Regions from separate parts of the Homo sapiens genome. Here region 1 is linked to region 2. Evidence: promoter capture Hi-C in human tissues and cell types (Jung and others, 2019). All regions are on one chromosome and are shown on one strand. The core of a region is centred on a gene start or on the middle of the fragment in contact, and the rest is flanking DNA. Distances in the headings are between cores, read along the strand shown. Region 1 overlaps MSRB3 (methionine sulfoxide reductase B3). Region 2 holds the start of HMGA2 (high mobility group AT-hook 2).

What was found. Contacts are between HindIII fragments. The study calls those that stand out against the background at their distance.
Region 1: a fragment that was not itself captured here is called in contact with the fragment with the promoter of HMGA2 in region 2 in 1 of the 25 tissues and cell types used here (thymus).

Annotation. Positions count from the first base shown.
Region 1 is chr12:65,427,874-65,433,076 of GRCh38, forward strand. The region is part of intron 5 of MSRB3 (methionine sulfoxide reductase B3); the gene reads left to right. Among named protein-coding and RNA genes, the nearest start is that of MSRB3, 150 kb to the left of the region's middle. RefSeq lists an enhancer at 2,660-3,859. The HindIII fragment of the contact is 5,234 bases long and covers 367-5,203 here.
Region 2 is chr12:65,822,768-65,828,356 of GRCh38, forward strand. It overlaps HMGA2 (high mobility group AT-hook 2), which reads left to right and starts at 1,716. Exons shown (of 5, transcript NM_003483.6): 1 at 1,716-2,614; 2 at 5,234-5,320. The coding sequence starts at 2,504. It also overlaps the pseudogene RPSAP52. RefSeq lists an enhancer at 2,836-3,443. The HindIII fragment of the contact is 9,780 bases long and covers 1-5,588 here.

The sequences.
Region 1 (5,203 bases), core at 1,734-4,233, 390 kb before region 2:
TTCTGGAGTACAAATTAGCTTGCTAGTAAGCTCCAGTGTCTGAAATGCTCCAGTGTCTGAAATGTGGACAAACCCAGTGCAGCCACAGGACCCAGGTCTAGAGTGTGAGGACTCAAGAGGTGTCCAGAGTTGAGGCACTTAGGGGATTTGGAGAGTTGGTGGCTTCTTTCCCAAAGCAGCTCAACAGTGGCCACTTCTTGGGTTGGTGAGGTGTGTGTAGCTGTGTCTTCCTCTCTGGGGTTCCCTGTGAAGAATAATGGTTTGTTATTTCAGTGGCAAAAGATATTGTTGTCATCTGCAGAGCAGGCTGCTGAGGACCATGGTGGTTTTCACCACATGGCTGATTCAGACAACCTCTGCTATTCTTCTTTGTTCTGGGCAATATCCTGGCATCTCAGGTATACTGATCTTACCAGTTATTTATTTTCTGTGTGTATATTTTTTTTTTGCTCCACTGTATTGTTGCAAAATCTTAAATAGGATCTTGGGGACTCTCTGGGGTTATTTTGTTTGGAGATAGCTGTCTATGTTTATTTTGGGGGTGCTAAAGGGAGAAAGCTGATATCTCCTACTCTGCCATTGTGGTTACATCCCTATTATTCATTTATTCTTTTAAACACCAATTCAACACTTGCTCTAATGGACTGGGCATTGAGTATATATGGTACAGCATAGACTCAGGCCCTTCCTTAATTAAGTGAGTTTTTAAAATAAGTTTACAAACAGGAGTACGACATTATTGGCACTAGCAAATCTAATCATGTAACCCCTCTGCCCAGAGTTTTTCCAAGGGCTTCTAATTGACTATGGGATGAAATATCCCTCCCTTTGCATGCAATCAAAGGCTTTCATGACCTAGACCTTTCTCTGTCTATGTTCAATTTCTCTACTTCCCACCCCCATCTTTAGCAATTGGTATTTTAGAAAACGCTAAACTAATTCCCCAGAATGCATTGTGCTGTTATTGTTGTTTCGTGCCCCTACATATGGGGTGTCCTCCCTTGGAATATCCTTTTTTTCCCCATAAGATAGACATGGGGTTTCTTTCTACTAGAATTATATGCCCCTTGTAAAACAGCTCTCTTATGATTACTTACCAGTCTCTATTGTCTTTATAATTTTTTTGAGGGTGGGACTGTATGGTTGCCTCTTGTTTTACCCTTGGCCTCTAGTATAGTTTTAAACACATCCATTAAGTCAATATCTACTGCCTTAGGGACAGGAGATACAGTGGCAAACAGACAGGGCTCCTGCTATTAAGGAGTTACTAAACAAGGAAACAAATAAATGGGATGATATTTGATAGGAGCTATGCAGGAAATAGAAAGGATCTATTTAACCCTTTGATATTGTTGATCCCATGATAGGGAATGATGGTGGTAGGTGGAGGGAGACGCTCATTTAAATAGGCATTTCAGGGAAAGCCTACTGAGGAGGTGATATCTGAGCCAAGGTCGAAAGTATGAGAATACAACCACACAAAGAGCTTGGGGGAGTGTTCAAAGCAGAAGAGAAAGCAAGTATTTGATATGTTACGGCAACCAAGAGAAGACCAGTGTGGTTGAAGCACAAGGGGAAGAGTGGTTTGAGATGTGTTTGGAGAGGTAGGCAGGAGTTGGATCATGCAGGTTTTTGTCCACCTTCAAATATTTCTTGAACTGAATGTGTCAAGCCTGAAATCAAATTCTGCATATTTTGTCCTTATCCTCCAGCATATCCTTAGGCTTCATTTCTCTCCAGCCATGTTCCCACTGGGCCCACTGCAATAAGAGTAAGAGTGTCATACATTTCTCTCCAGTTTTATTAGTGGGATTTTACCAGATCTGGAAATATTAAAGGAAGGAAATTGTTTTCAGTGTTTGGTCTTATGAGTAGGCCTTTAACAACAGCTATATCATAATGAATTCAGGATGATGTGAATGATGATTGCAGAGGAACTGGATATGCACAGTTCATACAGACCTCTAAGTAAAGCTTAGAGCTTGTTTCATTTGCTTCTGGTTTTTATCTCAGTATGATCCAGCAACCTAAAATAATGAAAGAAGAGCTCCATTTCCAGTGACCAGTTCAGTCCCTGCACTAGCAGAAAGTTAGTGTAGAATCCAATGCAAAGATCACATGTAAATTCTAGAAATTTTACTACATTTTTTTTTCAGAGATGACAATTGAATTGCCTGCTTTCCTTCCTTCCTTCTTTCTTTGTTCCTTCCTTCCTTCTTTCCTGAGCACTGAAGGATGTAAGTGCTGGTTTGAAGAATCTAAAAGGCTTCAGGGTAACAGTGAAGTGGACGACACATTCTTCTTCCAGCTGCTGCTGTTCACAACACTTCTGACAGTTAAAATACATCACACATTCTCTTGTCCTTTTAATGTAAACATTTACTGTTTTAAGTGGACTATAGAATCAAACCAAAATAGAAGGATGCAGACTGATATTTCAGAGGTGAAGCTAAGCACTAGACTAAATTAAATAAGAGTAATTTGCAATCTAACACATAGTTATAATACATATTGTACATTATACTCTGTTTGTCCCTGGGAAAGATTAAACAGAGGGCTTTCATTGCTTGCTGTATTTTTACAGCCTGTTACTAGAAAAGAATTTCATATAGAACAGGCAAAATTTTGAATTGGAATTAAGTTAAAAATAAATGGAAAAAGTAGTAAGGTCAGGGTAGCCTCCTTGGTGTTGATTTTCTCCTATGCTTAAGCATCATCTGAAAGTCAAGAAAATGATCGCATCTCTAGTTTTTGTTGTTTGTTAATTTCCTCAGGAAAAACTTGACCTCCTTCTTTCTTATTACGTTGGCATCTGTCTTAAGCCTTTGCCTTCAATTCTTATAGCTTCTTTCAAATTGTATTAAATTTGAAGACTAAGAACCTTCAAAATGACTCACATTTGAATCCTGGACCTACTCCTAAGCTGACCTGTTCTAGTTTTTAAAAATGGATGTGAAATTTTGCTTAGAATCCTAGAAGTTAAAAATGTGACATCCTACAGAATGCCACTTCATACAGGCAAGTCTGGTGCCCTTAAAGTTAGTTTTACCCTGAGAGGAAAACTTAGAAATGAATACAAGTTCAAGTTTGCTCAATTTCTTGTTTTGCTTAAAATTTGCCTACATAACACATAAATTCATCAAACTCCTTTCCTAGTGACAATACTTCATTAGATTACTTTAGTGAGTATTCAGGAGATTTTCATCTTATGAGTCATAAAATTCTTTTATTCCCCAAAGAATTTCTGGTGTCTGATTGGAATTTCACGTCTTTGTAGTTTTAGCTGGACTCTTTGAAGCAGTTACTTCCTAAATGACTGTATTCCTGAGGCCTGCATGTAATACCTGGGGAGCTGGGTCACAGGTTGACTCCTGTTTTTCAAGAAAATTGAAAAATCAATCTCTTTCATTGCTTTAGTCTTAGTAATTTTATTCAGAAATTTTCTTAAACTTTTTAACCTCCTCCTGTCATGACAGAGAGGTTTTCACTTGCTGCCTATACAGTTTCCAGCATTAATTTTTTTGTGCCTACTTAGGCCCGTTTCTGTCTATTTCTGTGAATACATCCCAGCGATTTAATGTTAGTATGTTTCTTGCCTTTCCTGTCAGGTTTTCATCACTCGTTTGGTATAAAGGAAAAGGGGATAGAATTACAAATATACTGGACCATGTAGCTATCGATGAGAAATGTCTTCAGATATCCTTTTACTTTTTTCTTCTTCTTCTTTTTTTAAAGTTCTTTTTGAAGGAGGTGAAAGTCAGGTTATAGTGGAAAGCCAGAACCATTGTGTGTTCCTATTTGAAAAATCCTGGGAAGTGAACATGATACTTTTTGACATGCGAGTTTCAGAAATTCTTAGTGATTATTATAATACACACTCCGCTTATGTGCAGAGCTTCATCTGCATGCACAAGTCTTTGTGTGTTTTAAAAGATAATGCCTAACTCTTCTGTTTATAAATGGCAGTAGCTGAGTATGCACAGAAGAGACTGAAGTCTAAGTCTGGATGTGCTATTTGGCTACATTCAAACAGCATGGGACAAACACAAAATGTAAGGCTAGTAGAATATTGACACTAACAAATTATTCGGAAGTTGGTTATTAGGAAATCTTTCACTGGACTTCAGTATCTTTGGTTTCTTTAAGAACAAATCTAAAATTTTACCCCAAAAGCTAGGTAGTTATATATTATTTGTATTATGGCTCCTTCAACACATAACTTTTTTAAACTTTTAAATCAATAAAAGAAGGGATTCTGTCTATAAAACACAAAGGAATACACCAAGTTAATGTTTTAGTTGATTAGTATATTATTTTGAGAGTAGAAAAAAATCAATGCAAAATTACTTGCTATTCACATATATGCAGAAAATGTAAGTCCTTGGAATGTAGCACACATTATCATTACATAATCTATATCCATATGCTGTTTATAACAAGCTGAAATGTTATACCCTTGAGAAAAGAACCAGATTCTGGCACAGGACTGTTTTGTGGCAAGGAAAGATGAATGGATTCCAAAATTTTAAAAGGGGGGAAAAGCTTGATGGTTCCACAAAAAATAAGAGTTGAAATGGGGATTTAGAGATATATATGTTAACACAAGCTGACAATTAAAGCAATTAATTTCCTTCTTTATCTATATCCCCTCCTAGCTCTTCTAATCCTGACTAAGGTAAATGGATTGACTCACCTTTTTAGCAGATGAAGATAGGAACAAAGATATCTGGCATTACAGCCTGTCTCCCCATCCCCCGCCATCCCCATTTGTAGCTTTTTTTTTTACAGATGTTTTTTTCCATTAGTTAGAATAGTTAGTTCTTAAAGCAGTTAGAGACAGATCTGTACCAGTCAGAGAAGCAGTGGTTCAAGCCTGTTGGCTTAATTGCTTTGAGTATGTTGCTAATGATGCTGGGGCCACATGTTAGATAGCCAATGTGAGCGTTTTTATGCAGTGGAAAAGGTCTTTCTCCAGACAAATATTGTACCTCTAATCCTTTTATGAGTAAATCTGAGATAAAGGGATTTGTGAATTTGTCAGTGACTCATTAAAAATATATTCTGAGTCCCTTAGGATAGCTATTATTAAAAAACAACAAAATAATAAGTGTTGGAGAGGATGTAGAAAAATTGGAATCTTATACTAGTGGGAATGTAAAATGGTACACTTAATGTGAAAACAATATGTCAGTTCCTCAAAAAA
Region 2 (5,589 bases), core at 466-2,965:
GCAAATATGTGATAGTTTTTAAATGTGCACGATTGGCAGTTAGGAAATGTCACTGTAATCGTTAGGTGAAACTTCAATCCCTTTGATGAAGATACCATCTTTGAGCCAAGCCCTGACAGAAAACCTTTGGTTCCTGTTAGACCCCTCCCTCCCCAGTCAGCTGCTGGGCTCCATCCGGAGGGATGGAGGCTCTCTCTCTCCATTACAGCTAAGCGTTCCCAGACCCAGCAGAAACCCTGGGTTCCTGCAGAGCACTCAACGTGCAGCAAAGTGTCCCAGCTCTGCAAAGGGCAGCTGGAAATGGATTTAAAATGGCAACGCGGACCAATCAGCGCTGCCGCGCCAAAGCAGACATTTACACGCGCCTCCTCCACATGCACAGCGGAACCTGGCGGTGCCTAACTCCTGCTTAGGGCTGCAAAGTAGGCGTTTTTATTCCACGGTGGTCTGTATCTTTGAAAAAAATAAATTCTTCCCCAGGTGAAAGTTTTTATTTTGGAATTAGTCCAAAATAATTTTGGGTGTGATGTGTGAAAATCTGAACCTAATTTTTTCAGAGTTTTGTGTTATTCAAGGATGAAAAGAGGTACATTTAAAAATGTACTCCACCTTTTAAAAACGGACTGTGGCCATTATGGTGTTCACATAACTCAGAACAGCCCAGGCCATAAAATTAGGACTTGGCAGAAAGAGAGTTCTCAGGCAGAAGGTTAAATCGAGGTAAACTGAAGGGAGAGTTGGGCAGTGAGTGCAATTGTGGTGTTAGGAATCTACAAGGTGCCCTTTACCCTGGGAACATCGGATTCCCGGGGAGGGGGATGGGGAGGGAACTTCGGTTGCCTCTAGTCTTTCCTGGAGAAAAAAGTTCAATGAAGAAGCTGGGGCGCTCTGTGTGTGCACATTGTTTGCATGTGTCTGCGAATGTGCATGTCTATCTGCGTGCCTGTGTGTATGTGTGTGTGTGTAAATGCGGGTGTTTACCAGCGCATGAATGCCCCCGTGTCCACGTGTATCTGCGTGCATGTGCTTACACGCGTGTTCGTGTGTATCTGCATGCATGTCTCCGTGTATGTGCGCGCTCGCCCGCCCGCAGGCTCTGTGGTGAGGGCATTCCGAGGCGGAGTACGGCTGTCAGGGGACCTCTCCCACTCCACTGCAGTCCCTTCCCACTCACAGTGAACCGGTGCGCTGCCTGAGGTGCAGCCTAGACGCTTCCTGCAAAGTGTTGGCTCGGCACGGTAGAGGCGCAGGTAAAGGCCAAGCCCCGAAACGTGGCTCCGGGACAGTCACGTTCCCGCGCCTTCCCAGGACAACTGCCCAGGGGTGACCTCGAGAGGCGGGTGGAGCTAGGCCCACGGCGAGCCAGCCCGGGATCCCCGGCCTGTCCCTTTAACCCCGCCGCCGGGCGGGAGCACGTGAGCGGGGCTCCGGGTGGCACCCGGGCGCCGCCGCCGCCGAGGCAGTTGTATTTCGAACGCTGCCTCTGGCTAGCAGCCAGGCGCCTTGGCTCGGCGGTCCGCCTGGCCTCCCTCCTCCTCATACTTTTCTTCCTGCGCAACCCCCTCCCCTTTATCCGCCCACGATTAGAGGTGGGCACTCCCCCCACCACCACCCCCTCCCCAAGCGCAAGCGCGTGCACGCACACACACCACACACACTCACACTCACACACACTCACACACACTCATCCCACTTGAATCTTGGGGCAGGAACTCAGAAAACTTCCAGCCCGGGCAGCGCGCGCTTGGTGCAAGACTCAGGAGCTAGCAGCCCGTCCCCCTCCGACTCTCCGGTGCCGCCGCTGCCTGCTCCCGCCACCCTAGGAGGCGCGGTGCCACCCACTACTCTGTCCTCTGCCTGTGCTCCGTGCCCGACCCTATCCCGGCGGAGTCTCCCCATCCTCCTTTGCTTTCCGACTGCCCAAGGCACTTTCAATCTCAATCTCTTCTCTCTCTCTCTCTCTCTCTCTCTCTCTCTCTCTCTCTCTCTCTCTCTCTCTCTCGCAGGGTGGGGGGAAGAGGAGGAGGAATTCTTTCCCCGCCTAACATTTCAAGGGACACAATTCACTCCAAGTCTCTTCCCTTTCCAAGCCGCTTCCGAAGTGCTCCCGGTGCCCGCAACTCCTGATCCCAACCCGCGAGAGGAGCCTCTGCGACCTCAAAGCCTCTCTTCCTTCTCCCTCGCTTCCCTCCTCCTCTTGCTACCTCCACCTCCACCGCCACCTCCACCTCCGGCACCCACCCACCGCCGCCGCCGCCACCGGCAGCGCCTCCTCCTCTCCTCCTCCTCCTCCCCTCTTCTCTTTTTGGCAGCCGCTGGACGTCCGGTGTTGATGGTGGCAGCGGCGGCAGCCTAAGCAACAGCAGCCCTCGCAGCCCGCCAGCTCGCGCTCGCCCCGCCGGCGTCCCCAGCCCTATCACCTCATCTCCCGAAAGGTGCTGGGCAGCTCCGGGGCGGTCGAGGCGAAGCGGCTGCAGCGGCGGTAGCGGCGGCGGGAGGCAGGATGAGCGCACGCGGTGAGGGCGCGGGGCAGCCGTCCACTTCAGCCCAGGGACAACCTGCCGCCCCAGCGCCTCAGAAGAGAGGACGCGGCCGCCCCAGGAAGCAGCAGCAAGTCAGTACGAGGGCGCGGTGGGGGCACCAGCCCACCCCGTCCCCACTGCCGGGGCCCAGACACGCGCGGGGCGGCCGGAGTGCGGGAGCCCAGTCGCCGCGGCCGTCGCACACTGCCCGCCGGCCGGCCGGGGGGAGCGGCGCAGACCCCACGAGTGCGCCGCGCGGCCCCGGGGCGCCAGCAACCCTCCGGGCGGGGAGGTGGGGAGCCGCGGCGGGCGGCCCGGGGAAGGCGGGAGGTGGGGTCGGGCGAAGCGCGTCCTCGGACTTTCGCTATTGTGCACGGCCCCGAGTGGCGCGGTGTCGCCCAGTGACTGGAAGCGACCGGGATCCGACAAACCCGGGCTCGCAGGCGCTTTCCGAGTTGCTTTTGCAACTGCCCGGGAGGAAGGAGGTGCCGGGGACCCGGGCGCTTCGGCCGATCTGGGCTGAAGGGGCTAGAGTCTTGGGGGCCGGAGGCTCTTTCTCCCGCCTCCCGGGGCTGCTCGCGGGTCGGGGGCTGGCGCGCCGCAGCCGCCCCCTTGGCGCCCTCCTCCAAGCTCTCGGTGGCCCAAGACTCGCGCCCTCCCGACAAAGAACGCATGGAGACCCGGCTGCCTGGTCCTTTTTGGGCTCTTTAAATATGCGGCGGCCGCCGGAGGGAGCCCGGGGCAGGGGCTACGGGGAGCCTGGTTCCCCGCAGGACGGGGTTAACTCGCCCAGCTAAGGGCGCGTTGAAAGGAGTGTCCAAGAGAGTGCAGGGTAGCCAGGGTCGCTTCCTTGTCAGGGGCCCGGTCCCCCTTTTGCCCCTGGATCTCGCGCCTCAGAGCTGCAGCCATTAAATGCTCTTCTCCAAGGCCAGTGGCCGGGGGTTGAGTAGGGGACGATCGAGGGGCGCCCGGGACCCTGCGGAGTGGAGGGTTTTGTCTGCGGATGCAACCAATTAAGCGTGCAGCCGGCGCTTGCAGAGCTGCGCTCAGCGCGCAGGGCTGGGGGTTTTGTTCGCTGTAATTTCCAAGCCGCGGCGGGCAGAGTTGGAGCGGGATATGTCTATTGAGAACATTTAAACTCCACTTTCTCGGGCTTTAAAACTTGCTCTCTGCTTAGTCTTAAATCGCTTCCTTCATGGCAAACACGCCGATTAGAAAATAATCCTAGAGTCCCAAAGTTGTCCGAGAGCAAGGTGGGGAAACTGAACAATGTTTGCTTGCCAGTGCATTTTAGAAAAATTGAGAGTTGTACCTTTTTGAAATCATCAAAGGAAACAAGCCGATCTAGAGGCCCCTGAGTTTTCCCGCTCTGCCCAAGCGACACTTTACACCGCATTTGAATCCTGTTTTACACCTCCCAGGAAGTCTCTGCCCTCCCCCACTTGTTTCCCACCCGCCACCCAGTTCTAACTCACTAATTGCCCCCCCTCCAAAAAAAAAAAAAAAATCCAAAAGAAATTACAATGGGGTCTGGAGGTGATTGGATACTTTACCTTTGAGTTAAGGCAGAGTTCACAAAGAAAGAAAAATTTGTCTCCGATGTGTTTGCTCTCGATGTGCCCACTGGTGCTAGTGGTCCCACAGAAGCTTGCAGGGAACCTTCCCGAATTCTCTAAATGGGATGCGAATTTTCATTGAGGACGTTCATGGGTTTTAAGTTAATTAGTCTCACTTAATCACCGAATCTGAATGAAATGTGAATAGATGATTCACTGGATAAATATTTGGGATCTGGAATATTAATCATCGCATTCTCTTAACCACTTGAGTATTTACTACTTGGCATAGGAGCCATTTAAAGTTTTGCTAAACCAAGTGATTGCTTCCATTTCTCATTCCCAGACACTCCATTCCTCCTCGCTTTTACCTCCTTTTAGTTTTCTCCACTCCACCCCCATAAGAGTTTTCTCAAAAGAAAGTTTTGAAGAAAATATGTTTATTTTTATCAAAAGATATTTAAATTTAGACTGGAGGCCATGCCTGCATCTCCAAAAGGAAGTGGAGAATTGAAGCAATTAACTAGATGATTCAAGCAAAACCTCCCACCATAGATTTACTATAATTATTTGGAAATTTTAGGGGGAATGGAGTTATTTTGAACTGAAGAACTTGAATAATTGCTCCAGTATTTCACTCAAAATGTGTCAGTTGAATCATAATCCACCTAGAAGGCAGGTATACAAAGATGATTAAAGGCCACCTTTTCAATATGGAAGATTGTTGAAATATCTGTGATGGTAGCTTCGTATTTCTGTTGTTTGAAATGCTAGTATAATGCAGAGTGGTGTTCGTTTAAAATGCCTATTATTCCTATGAGTTGCCAAATGCATAGCCCTGTAAACTTTACACCTTAAAAGTATATGACTTTCTTTCTAGAACATGCCTCTTCAGTCTTTGTTACCATTTTAGGTTTGAAGTAGAATCTAGTTTTCATATACAAAATAGAGTTTCCTCTTTGAACCCTTGCATTAAAAGTATAGTTATTTCCCCTTTCTGTAAACTCTGTACCATCATCATCCATTTATGCTTGAACTGAACGTGTTCCAACAGCTCTTTTGAGCAGCACATGCAGAAAATATAGCTAAAGAGTCAGGGTCAATTTCTTTCAGACATTCTTGCCACAACAGCATTTTTTTTTCCCTCACAATTAGGAACCAACCGGTGAGCCCTCTCCTAAGAGACCCAGGGGAAGACCCAAAGGCAGCAAAAACAAGAGTCCCTCTAAAGCAGCTCAAAAGGTGAGATTTCTCAAGTCAAGCTCTCCTAACTTCATCAATGACTGACTACAGGAGCCTGCCTGTAACTTTCCCATTCTAACTCCGCAGCCAGGAATTTGTCCCAACTGGGTAACACAAGACTCATTTCTTACATTTAACATTAGTTAGATGCGAGTTAACCTTTTTTGTAAGCAGATGCTCAGCATAAAAAGTTTATGAAGATACTTAACAGTGTTGTTTTTAAACAAACAGCCACCAAATAATTTGAACCTTAAAACGGGTAGAAGTGA